2 separate regions of the Homo sapiens genome follow, and region 2 is linked to region 1. Evidence: promoter capture Hi-C in human tissues and cell types (Jung and others, 2019). All regions are on one chromosome and are shown on one strand. The core of a region is centred on a gene start or on the middle of the fragment in contact, and the rest is flanking DNA. Distances in the headings are between cores, read along the strand shown. Region 1 holds the start of ATG2A (autophagy related 2A). Region 2 holds the start of NAALADL1 (N-acetylated alpha-linked acidic dipeptidase like 1).

The links. The method cuts DNA at HindIII sites, captures the fragments that hold promoters and counts their contacts. A contact is called where the count stands out against the background at its distance.
Region 2: the fragment with the promoter of NAALADL1 here is called in contact with the fragment with the promoter of ATG2A in region 1 in 2 of the 25 tissues and cell types used here (aorta and mesendoderm cells).

Annotation. Positions count from the first base shown.
Region 1 is chr11:64,915,254-64,919,994 of GRCh38, reverse strand. ATG2A (autophagy related 2A) reads left to right here and starts at 2,786. Exons shown (of 41, transcript NM_015104.3): 1 at 2,786-3,030. The coding sequence starts at 2,860. It also overlaps a transcript of PPP2R5B not described here. RefSeq lists an enhancer at 2,385-2,514 and a silencer at 2,565-2,874. The HindIII fragment of the contact is 28,686 bases long and covers 1-4,741 here.
Region 2 is chr11:65,055,853-65,060,593 of GRCh38, reverse strand. NAALADL1 (N-acetylated alpha-linked acidic dipeptidase like 1) reads left to right here and starts at 2,041. Exons shown (of 18, transcript NM_005468.3): 1 at 2,041-2,257; 2 at 2,344-2,516; 3 at 2,598-2,719; 4 at 3,101-3,223. The coding sequence starts at 2,073. The HindIII fragment of the contact is 22,908 bases long and covers 1-4,741 here.

The DNA of each region.
Region 1 (4,741 bases), core at 1,537-4,036:
GGATTACACGTGTAAGCCACTGTTCCAAGCCTCTTTTTTCTTTTTATGATTTCTGAATCTTAATGCTTTTTCATTCATTCGCTCCACAGCATTTAGGCACGTAGCCTTGGTCTCCTCTCCCTTAAGAATGGGGATATTAATAGAACCTCCCTCATGAGCATATGGTGAACAGCAGAGCAGATGAGATCGTGCACGTAAAGTAACAAGCCCAAGGCCTAGGACATCACACAGGCTTAATTCATGGTGGCAATTATATTTACTATTAATTTTTTTTTTAGACAAGATCTCCGTCTGTCACCGAGGCCGGAGTGCAGTGGTGCATTCATAGCTTCACTGCAACTTCAAACTCCTGGGCTCAAATGACCAAAGGCACACACCACCACGCCCGGCTAATTTTTTGAAACATTTTTTTTTTTTTGTAGACACAGGGATTCAGCTATGTTGCCCAGGCTGGTCTCAAACTCCTGGGCTCAAGCGATCCTTCTGCCTCAGCCTCCCAAAGTGCTGGGATTACAGGAGTGAGCAACCCAACCCGGTATATTATTATTAATGTAATAATCAGTTGGTGAGCACAGTACTGCCCCCAGCCTGCCATGGAAGAAGGCAGAGCTCTAGATTCCTTCCACAAGCAGTTTCTTCTTTTTTTTTTTTTGAGACAGAATCTCGCTCTGTCAGCCAGGCTGGAGTGCAGTGGCACAAACTTGGCTCACCACAAGCTCCGCCTCCCAGGTTCACACCATTCTCCTGCCTCAGCCTCCCGAGTAGCTGGGACTACAGGCGCCCGCCATCACACTCTGCTAATTTTTTAAATATTTTTTAGTAGAGATGGGGTTTCACTGTGTTAGCCAGGGTGGTCTCGATTTCCTGACCTCATGATCCACCCGCCTTGGCCTCCCAAAGTGCTGGGATTACAGGCATGAGCCACCGTGCCTGGCCCATAAGCACTTTCTGAATGGCTGTCCTATCAGCCTGCCTCCCTGAATGGAGCCTGCTCCTTCCAGGTAATGAACTATCTCCACTTACTAACCCAACCCCAGTTACATAGGATAAAACTGAGGGTCACAAGAGGAGAAGAAACCACCCATGGGTGGGACTGGAATACAGGTCCCTGCCCGGTGGGCCAGGGCGGTTGCCCTTGCTTCAGGCTGAGTTTTGGCATTAGAATGTAAGAGTCCAGCTCCCAAGTAAGATTAAAATAGAAACACAGGCTAGGTGGGGTAGCTCACACCTGTAATCCCAGCTACTCAGGAATTCCTTGAACCCAGGAGCCAGAGGTTGCGTGAGAGGAGACTGCACCACTGCACTCCAGCCTGGGCAACAGAGCAAGACTCTGTCTCAAAAAAAATAAATAAAATAGAAACATAGGCCGGGCACGGTGGCTCGTGCCTGTAATCCCAACACTTTGGGAGGCCAAGGCAGGCTGATCACCTAAGGTCAGGAGTTCGAGACCAGCCTGCCCAACACGGTAATTAGCTGGGTGCGGTGGTGCATGCCTGTAATCCCAGCTACTCTGGGAGGCCAAGGCAGCAGAATCATTTGAACCCAGGAGGCAGAGGTTGCAGTGAGCCAAGATTGTGCCACTGCACTCCAGCCTAGGTGACAGAGAGAGTCTGTCTCAAAAAGAAAAGAAAAGAAACATAATTACCTATGGCTGTTCCTGAAGTCGCCCATGATGTAAGAGGTTTTGTGTGGCTGCCCCCTACAGAGCAGCGGTTGGCAAACTTTTTCTGTGAAGGGCCAGAAAATAAATATTTTAGGCTTTGCAGGCCTCTGTCTCAAGTACTGAATTCTGCTCTTGTAGCAAGAAAGCAGCCCGGGGCAGAACTTAAGCAAATGAGCAAGACTGTGTGACACTAAAACGTTATGTATAAACACTGGAATGTGAATTTCATATGATTTTTCACATGCCATGAAAAGTTCATTCTTCTTTTGATTTTTCCCCTAACCATTTAAAAGACATAAAAACCATACTTAGCTCAAAGGCCGTACAAAAACAATGCCCCCCTGCTTAAAGGAGGCAGAATCCATTCTTTGATTTTAGGACTAGAGATATGAAAAGCTATTATTATTTCAGAGAGGTGCCTAAGGCCTGACCGACGGCAGAGAGAAGGGAGGGTCAGTTAATCTCCCTCTGAGCATTCCGGGGTGAGGAGGGGAAAAAAGACCTTCCTTGGTGATGGATTCAGAGCCCTTATTTATTTTTGTTTGTTTTTGAGGCAGGGTCTTTCTCGTATCTTAATCTGTTTTCTTACCTGTAAAGCGGTGGCAATAATCCCTACCTTGAGCGATTATTAAGAGGGCTCAATGAGATAAAGGATGGTAAAAGATTTTGCAAAATGCGAATGTTTACTCACTTAATTGTTTCCACAGATGCGCGCTTAAGATCGCGCACTGAGTTTACTCCTCTGGGGAAGGCTTCTACGAAGTTTGATGGGACACTGTCCCTTTAAATCCTCCCCAACCACTTAAAGTGGTTGGACGAATCAGCACATGCGCATTCCTTTGAGGGGCCGGCACCTGGAGCAACAGCCTTCCCAGAGCCTGTAGAGGGGAGGTTAAAGGTCCTCCCACACAGTACTTTACGCAAGCGTAAATCATGATTGAGAGCCCTATATCATGCAGAGAGCCCAGTCCCTTTTTCGCGCCCGAAGGCTCCGCCCCGCGCAGCCAATCAGTAGGCCTCGCCCTTTGCAATAGCCAATGACAGTGAGCGTAGGGGGCGTGGCTGGGCGTCCGGAGGCGCGGCCTGGCGCCTAGAGAAGCGGCGGGGCGAGCCGGGGGCTCTAGTGAACAGCGGAGCCGGACGGGGATCGCCGGCGGGCGGCAAGCGGAGGCGGCCCAGGCCCGGCGGTCTCCGAGATGTCACGATGGCTGTGGCCATGGTCAAACTGTGTGAAAGAGCGGGTCTGCCGCTACTTGCTGCACCACTACTTAGGTCACTTCTTCCAAGAGCACCTCAGCCTGGACCAGCTCAGCCTCGATCTGTACAAGGGCAGCGTTGCCCTGCGAGACATCCACCTGGAAATCTGGGTGAGGAGCCAGGCCCGAGTCCAGGAAGGTGCGGAGGGTGGGAGCGCAGCGACCTGAGGCTCCCTGCGGCAGGATCGGGCTGGGGGATCAGGCACCGGGCGTAGAGAGGCCAGGGGAATCTTGCCCTCTCCAGGCGTCAGAGGCACCCCGGCTGGCCTCTTCAGTTCCTTACCAGAGCCAGAAACTGAGCGGGAAGGGGTTTCTGTCTCCACGGGAGGAGAAACTGAGGCTGGAGAGGGCAAGATCACCTGTCTGGAGAATGCAAGACAAACTCGTCGAGTTTGGGGGCTGAGTTAAGGAGGTTGGCTCTCGGGCTGAGGAGGGGCTGGGGAGGGAGCGTAGGAACTGAGCTGGGCCAGGGCAGTGACAGACTTGGGCCTGCGCAGCTGGTGGGGGAAGCTGGTAGGGGTCCGGAGCCCTGGCGAGGACACCTGTGGATCATGTGCCCTGACCTCTTGACCCCACGGTCCTGAGCCCGTAGGTGGGATCAACAAACCACCGGATGTGTATGTCAACAACCGCGTCAGTACGTCAGTACCAGTGTTGATCAACACCTCGTGTGCCTGGGTCGCTGCCTACTTCCTGCTTTTGGGAGAGTGGGATGGGCCAAGTGGGTGTCTAGGGAGGGACTGGATGGCCCCCACCTACATCTCCCACCGACCCCCCCGGCTCAGTGTCCCTGCCTGGAGGGAGGCCCTGGAGGAAAGGTGGGGAGATCTGGCTTCAAGCCGGGAGGAGGCCAAGGGAGATGCTAGGGAGGCCAAGAGGTGTAAGGTCAGAGGCTTGAGGCTGGGAACGGTGAGGAGCCCTGACTCACAGCTCAGCTGACCTGGGGAGCTTTGAAGGAGCCACCAATTAGAGGCGCGTCCTGGTCGATCCACCAGGTCCAGAGCAGCAGGGGTGGGCATGGAGGCAGGGACTTCTCAGTTTTGTGGCTGGACTCAGGGGGCTGCTAATCTGGGCAGAAGAGCTAGGCTTTGGGGGTAGGCCAGGCCCTGGTGAGCAAATGTGGGGTAGGATAATCGTGGGCCCTGAACTGGGGGCACCCCCCAGTGGCCTGCTGTCTGTGAATTCTGGTGTAGGAAGCCCTCTCTGACCTCTAACCTTAGCCTCAGCCTCTAAGGCCGTCTCTAGGCTGCCCCTTTTTTATTTTTATAGAGACAGGATTTCGCTATGTTGCCCAGGCTAGCCTTGAACCCCTGAAGGGATCCTCCCACCTCAGCCTCCCAAAGTGCTGAGATTATAGGCATGAACCACCATACCCAGCCCTAGGCTTCCCCTTTTTACTTTCAGCTCCAGAAAACGCCCCTACTCCTGTTCCCTGCCCTCTTGTTGGGGATTGAATTGGCTTCTCTAGGGCCCTGGTGGAATGCAGGCGCTTTCTTGATAACCAGCCCCTCCTCCCTCCCAGCTCAGCCTGCAGGCCCCGCCTTGAAGGCCCCCAAAGAAACTGAGTATCTGGGGCCTCTGAAGTGGCATGAAAAGAAAGAGGCCCGCATCCCAGTCTCAGTCCCTGTTGTATACTGGGTGACTAGATTAGTCCTGTCTCTAGGCCTCAGTTTCCCGAGCTGTGGGTCTCTGGGTGAGGAATTTGGACTCCCATCTGCTCTGCCATGTGCTTTTTTATTCTTGGATCCAACCAGTTTACTGAGGCCCTTTCTGGGTGGCACCTGGGGTGACGGGGGAGGCAGGTGGGGTACAGCCCTCCAGG
Region 2 (4,741 bases), core at 792-3,291, 140 kb before region 1:
ACACTTTTGTCCAGGCGTCCTGTTTGTGACTTCACATGATTGAGGGGTTAAATCCTTCCAGGAGTGGGTGGGGTAGGACCATGGGGTTGCTGCCTCAGTCCCTCAACTTATCAGCTGACCTTGGCATCCCACTCCCCACCTGGTGGTGACTGTCCTGTGTCCTCATAAGGAAGGTGTATGCTCCCTGCACCGATGGGCTTCTGATAAGATCCAAGGTCATATTCTGGGCGTCGATAATCACGTTGCCAAGAACTGTGGCTTCCTGGTGCACCTCCCTGAAGTCACTGATCACATGACATCCCTTCCCAGCCACCCCTAGTCCTCCCATGCTGAACCTCCTCACCAGCAGCACAAGAGATGGTGGTGCCAGCAAAATGGGGTTGTGAGCAGGAAGGAGGCTGCTCTGAGAGGGGTCTGTGAAATCACACACACACACATGCACGTGCACACACACACACACACACACACACGCTCTGCCCTGATCCAGCCCCCAAGCTCTGCAGGCATCTTTGAGCCCATCCATGGGCTGCAACCTGCGAGGCAGAGTCAAGGCAGGATAGGCCATGGGAGGGTGGGAGAAGTCCCAGCTCAAGTCCCTAGGGACCCCCCCAGCCCCTCCTGGCTCTCCGTGAGGTCTGGAAGAGGCTCAGTATGTGTATGGCATACTTGGGGTCTCACTTCCCTCTCAGCCCTTGCAAATGCTGGAACACCTTTTCAGCCTTGGAGGACCCCCTCAGATGTTCCCTCCTAGTCAGAACTCCTCACTCTTTCACTGGGAGCATGGTGATCCTCCCTCTACAGGGCACTTACCACATGGCTGAACCTAAAGCCTGTCTGCCTCGCCTGCTGGATTTTGCTTCCCCACAGCCTTGCATGGCTCTAGTATAGCACAGAATGAACAGTGCTTGCATGTATAAAGGAAGGAATGAATAAGTGAATGGAGGGATGGGTGGATGGATAAATAGGAGGGTGGATGACGGAGTCCAGGCAGAGCCAGGGGATAGAAGAGGAAGTCACCTCGCCAGGGAGGCATGGGCTTCCCCTGCTGCCTCCTCTGGGACAGCCTCCCTTCCCAGGACTCCCATTCCTCGTATCGCTGGGCTCCCTTCAGGATAGACACAGAGAGTTCTTCTGGGTCCTCCTTCTTCCTTTAGCTCTAGGCCTTACATTTTCCAGAGTCAGATGAGGGATGAGTAGTTAAAATTGATGAGCTCCCACTACATGTCAGACACTGCACTAGCTATTTCTACAGATGCCATATTGTTTAATGAAAATGACACCATAGCCGGCACGGTGGCTCACTCCTGTCATCCCAGCACTTTGGGAGGCTGAGGCGGGTGATCACCTGAGATCAGGAGTTTGAGACCAGCCTGGCCAACATGGTGAAACCCCATCTCTACTAAAAATACAAAAATTAGCTGGACATGGTGGTGCACACCCGTAATCCCAGCTACTCGGGAGGCCGATGCAGGAGAATCACTTGAGCCCGGGAGGTGGAGGTTGCAGTGAGCCGAGATCACACCACTGGACTCCAGCCTGGGTGTCAGTGGAAGACACAGTCTAGAAAAAAAAAAAAGAAAACAGGTGTAGAGAAGCTGAGTGGATTGCCCAAGGTCACACAGCTTACGTCCAGCAAGAAGGGGGATCTCAACTCAAAATCTGCTCAGGCAGGTAGGGCTGGGTATGCTGTAGATCGGCTGCCTTGGAGGGAGGCAGAGGCAGTGAGGGTGGGCAGTGGGCACGGCCCTGCTGTGAACACAGGAGCTCTGAGTTCCAGCCCTGGCTTGGCCTCTGTTTTCCTGGGACACCCTGGATGAGCCCCTTCCCTCTCGGCTTCAGTGTCCCTGGGTGACCTTGCTGCCCTTGGAGAGCCATTCCAGGCAAATGGTGCAGGATGTGGTGGATGTGGATGGCTCCTGGCTCTCACTGCGGGATGTTCCCTCACTCTCCCTGCCAGCTGGGGGTCAAAGGGCAGTGCCACCCATGGGGTAATGTTTAACCAGGCACAACACCCCCTCTATAGGGAATAACCTATAGACCAGTCCTACCCCAGCTGGCCAAGAGTCCGCAGGATGCAGTGGACGAAGGTGTTGGGGCTGGGGCTGGGGGCTGCTGCCCTCTTGGGGCTGGGGATCATCCTCGGCCACTTTGCCATCCCCAAAAAAGCCAACTCACTGGCCCCCCAGGACCTGGACCTGGAGATCCTGGAGACCGTCATGGGGCAGCTGGATGCCCACAGGATCCGGGAGAACCTCAGGTGAGAAGTGGGGCCATCTGCTCCTCCGTTTGCCAGAGGCCCCCTCCCTGATGCTGGCCCTGCCCCTCCCTCTGCCCACCCTGCAGAGAACTCTCCAGGGAGCCACACCTGGCCTCCAGCCCTCGGGATGAGGACCTGGTGCAGCTGCTGCTGCAGCGCTGGAAGGACCCAGAGTCAGGCCTGGACTCGGCCGAGGCCTCCACGTACGAAGTGCTGCTGTCCTTCCCTAGCCAGGAGCAGCCCAACGTCGTGGACATCGGTGAGGTCCTGCCCAGTCTTGGGAATGCCCGGGGGTGGGGAGCTGCTGGGCCCAGCCATGATACTGCCACCCCTCCAACAGTGGGCCCCACTGGGGGCATCATCCACTCCTGCCACCGGACTGAGGAGAACGTGACCGGGGAGCAAGGGGGGCCAGATGTGGTACAACCCTATGCTGCCTATGCTCCTTCTGGAACCCCACAGGTGGGCCCAGAACCCCCCCTACTGCTCTGGCCCAGCTCCCTTGGTTCCACCCAGGGTTCTCCCCACCCTGACCCAGGGAACGTGCCTCAACTGGGGCACAGCGCGCCCTCCGGAATTTACTCACCGGGACACTCCATCGCTGCTCCTTTCCTCCATCAGTCATTCAACAAACACTAGTGGCTCTGCTCAAGGCCAGGTCTGTTACAGGGCACCCAGACATGGAGGAAATGAGGGGTGACTGTTCTTGGGGAGCTTACAAGCTCTGGGTGAGGTGGGGGAACAGAATCTAAATTCTCCCTCCTGCCATGCAAACTTCCACCCCCCTTCCCCACCCACACTTCGCTGGGCCCAGCTCTAAGGATCACCCCCTCTTGGGACTAGGGCCTCCTCGTCTATGCCAACCGGGGCGCGGAAGAAGACTTTAAGGAGCTACAGACTCAGGGCATCAAACTTGAAGGCACCATTGCCCTGACTCGATATGGGGGTGTAGGGCGTGGGGCCAAGGTGAGTGGCAGTCCCCCAGTGCAGGAGGCCTCGGTGAGGAAGGGGCTGGGCAGTGGACTGGAGGAAGTGAGGGGAAGGGGAAGGAGAAGAGGCAGTGTTGAGTGGGGAACCAAGCCCCAGGGTGGGGCAGGAAAGGCAAGGTGTTTTCGGGTTGTCCCACCAATGGGCTGTGTGGCCTCGGATGCCTCCCTGACCCTCTCTGAGCTGTAGGAAATAAAGGGGTTGAGTACAATTTTCAGGTTTGGTATTCCAGAAGTCTAAGTCCTCCTGTGAAATAGTTTTGAATATTCAACTTAAGTCCCTCCTGTTGGCCCTCTCCCTGCCATTTCTTTTCCATCAAAAATTCTGACTAGGGGCCGGGCGCTGTGGCTCACGCCTATAATCCCAGCACTTTGGGAGGCCGAAGTGGGCAGATCACCTGAGGTCAGGAGATCAAGGCCAGCCTGGCCAACATGGTGAAACTCCATCTCTACTCAAAATACAAAATTAGCCACACATGGTGGTGCATGCCTGTAATCCCAGCTACTGGGGAGGCTCAGGCAGATGAACTGCTTGAACCTGGGAGGCAGAGATGGTAGTGAGCTGAGATTGCACCACTGCACTCTCCAGCCTGGGAGACATCGAGACTCTGATTTAAAAAAAAAAAAAAAAAAAAAAAGGCTGGGCATGGGCGTGGTGGCTCACGCTTGTAATCCTAGCACTTTGCGGGGCCAAGGCAGGCGGATTGCCTGAGTTCAGGAGTTCAAGACCAGCCTGGGCAACACGGTGAAACCCCATCTCTACTAAAATACAAAAAAACAAAAATTAGCTGGGTGTGGCAGCGTGCACCTGTAGTCCTAGCTACTCAGGAGGCTGAGGCAGGAGAATTGCTTGAACCCAGGAGGTGGAGGTTGCAGTGAGCCAAGATTGTGCCACTGCACTCCAGCCTGGGTGACAGAGCGAGACTCCATCTCTAAAAACAAAAAACAAACAAACAAACAAAATTAATATAAAAAGAGTAGAATGAGAGAGGGGAAGGGATAGTTGGTATTTAATGGGGACCGAGTTTCGGATTTGTCAGATGAAGAGTTCTAGAGATGAATGGTGGTGATGTTGCACAATATGGATGTACTGAATGCCACTGAACTGCATACTCCACATGCTAAGTTTATGTTATGTGTATTTTACCACAATTTTTTTAAAAGTGGGCTGGACGCGGTGGCTCATGCCTGTAATCCCAGCACTTTCGGAGGCCAAGGCAGGTGGATTACCTGAGGTCAGGAGTTCGAGACCAGCCTGGCCAACATGGTGAAACCCTGTCTCTACTAAAAATACAAAAAATAGCCGCTCATGGTGGCAGGCACCTGTAATCCCAGCTACTCAGAGGTTGAGGCAGCAGAATCACTTGAACCCAGGAGGCAGAGGTTGCAGTGAGCCGAGATCATGCCATTGCACTCCAGCCTGGGGGACAAGAGCAAGACCTCATCTCAAAAAAAAAAAAAAAAAGGTGTCCATAATAAGAGCTGGGAAAAGAGAAAG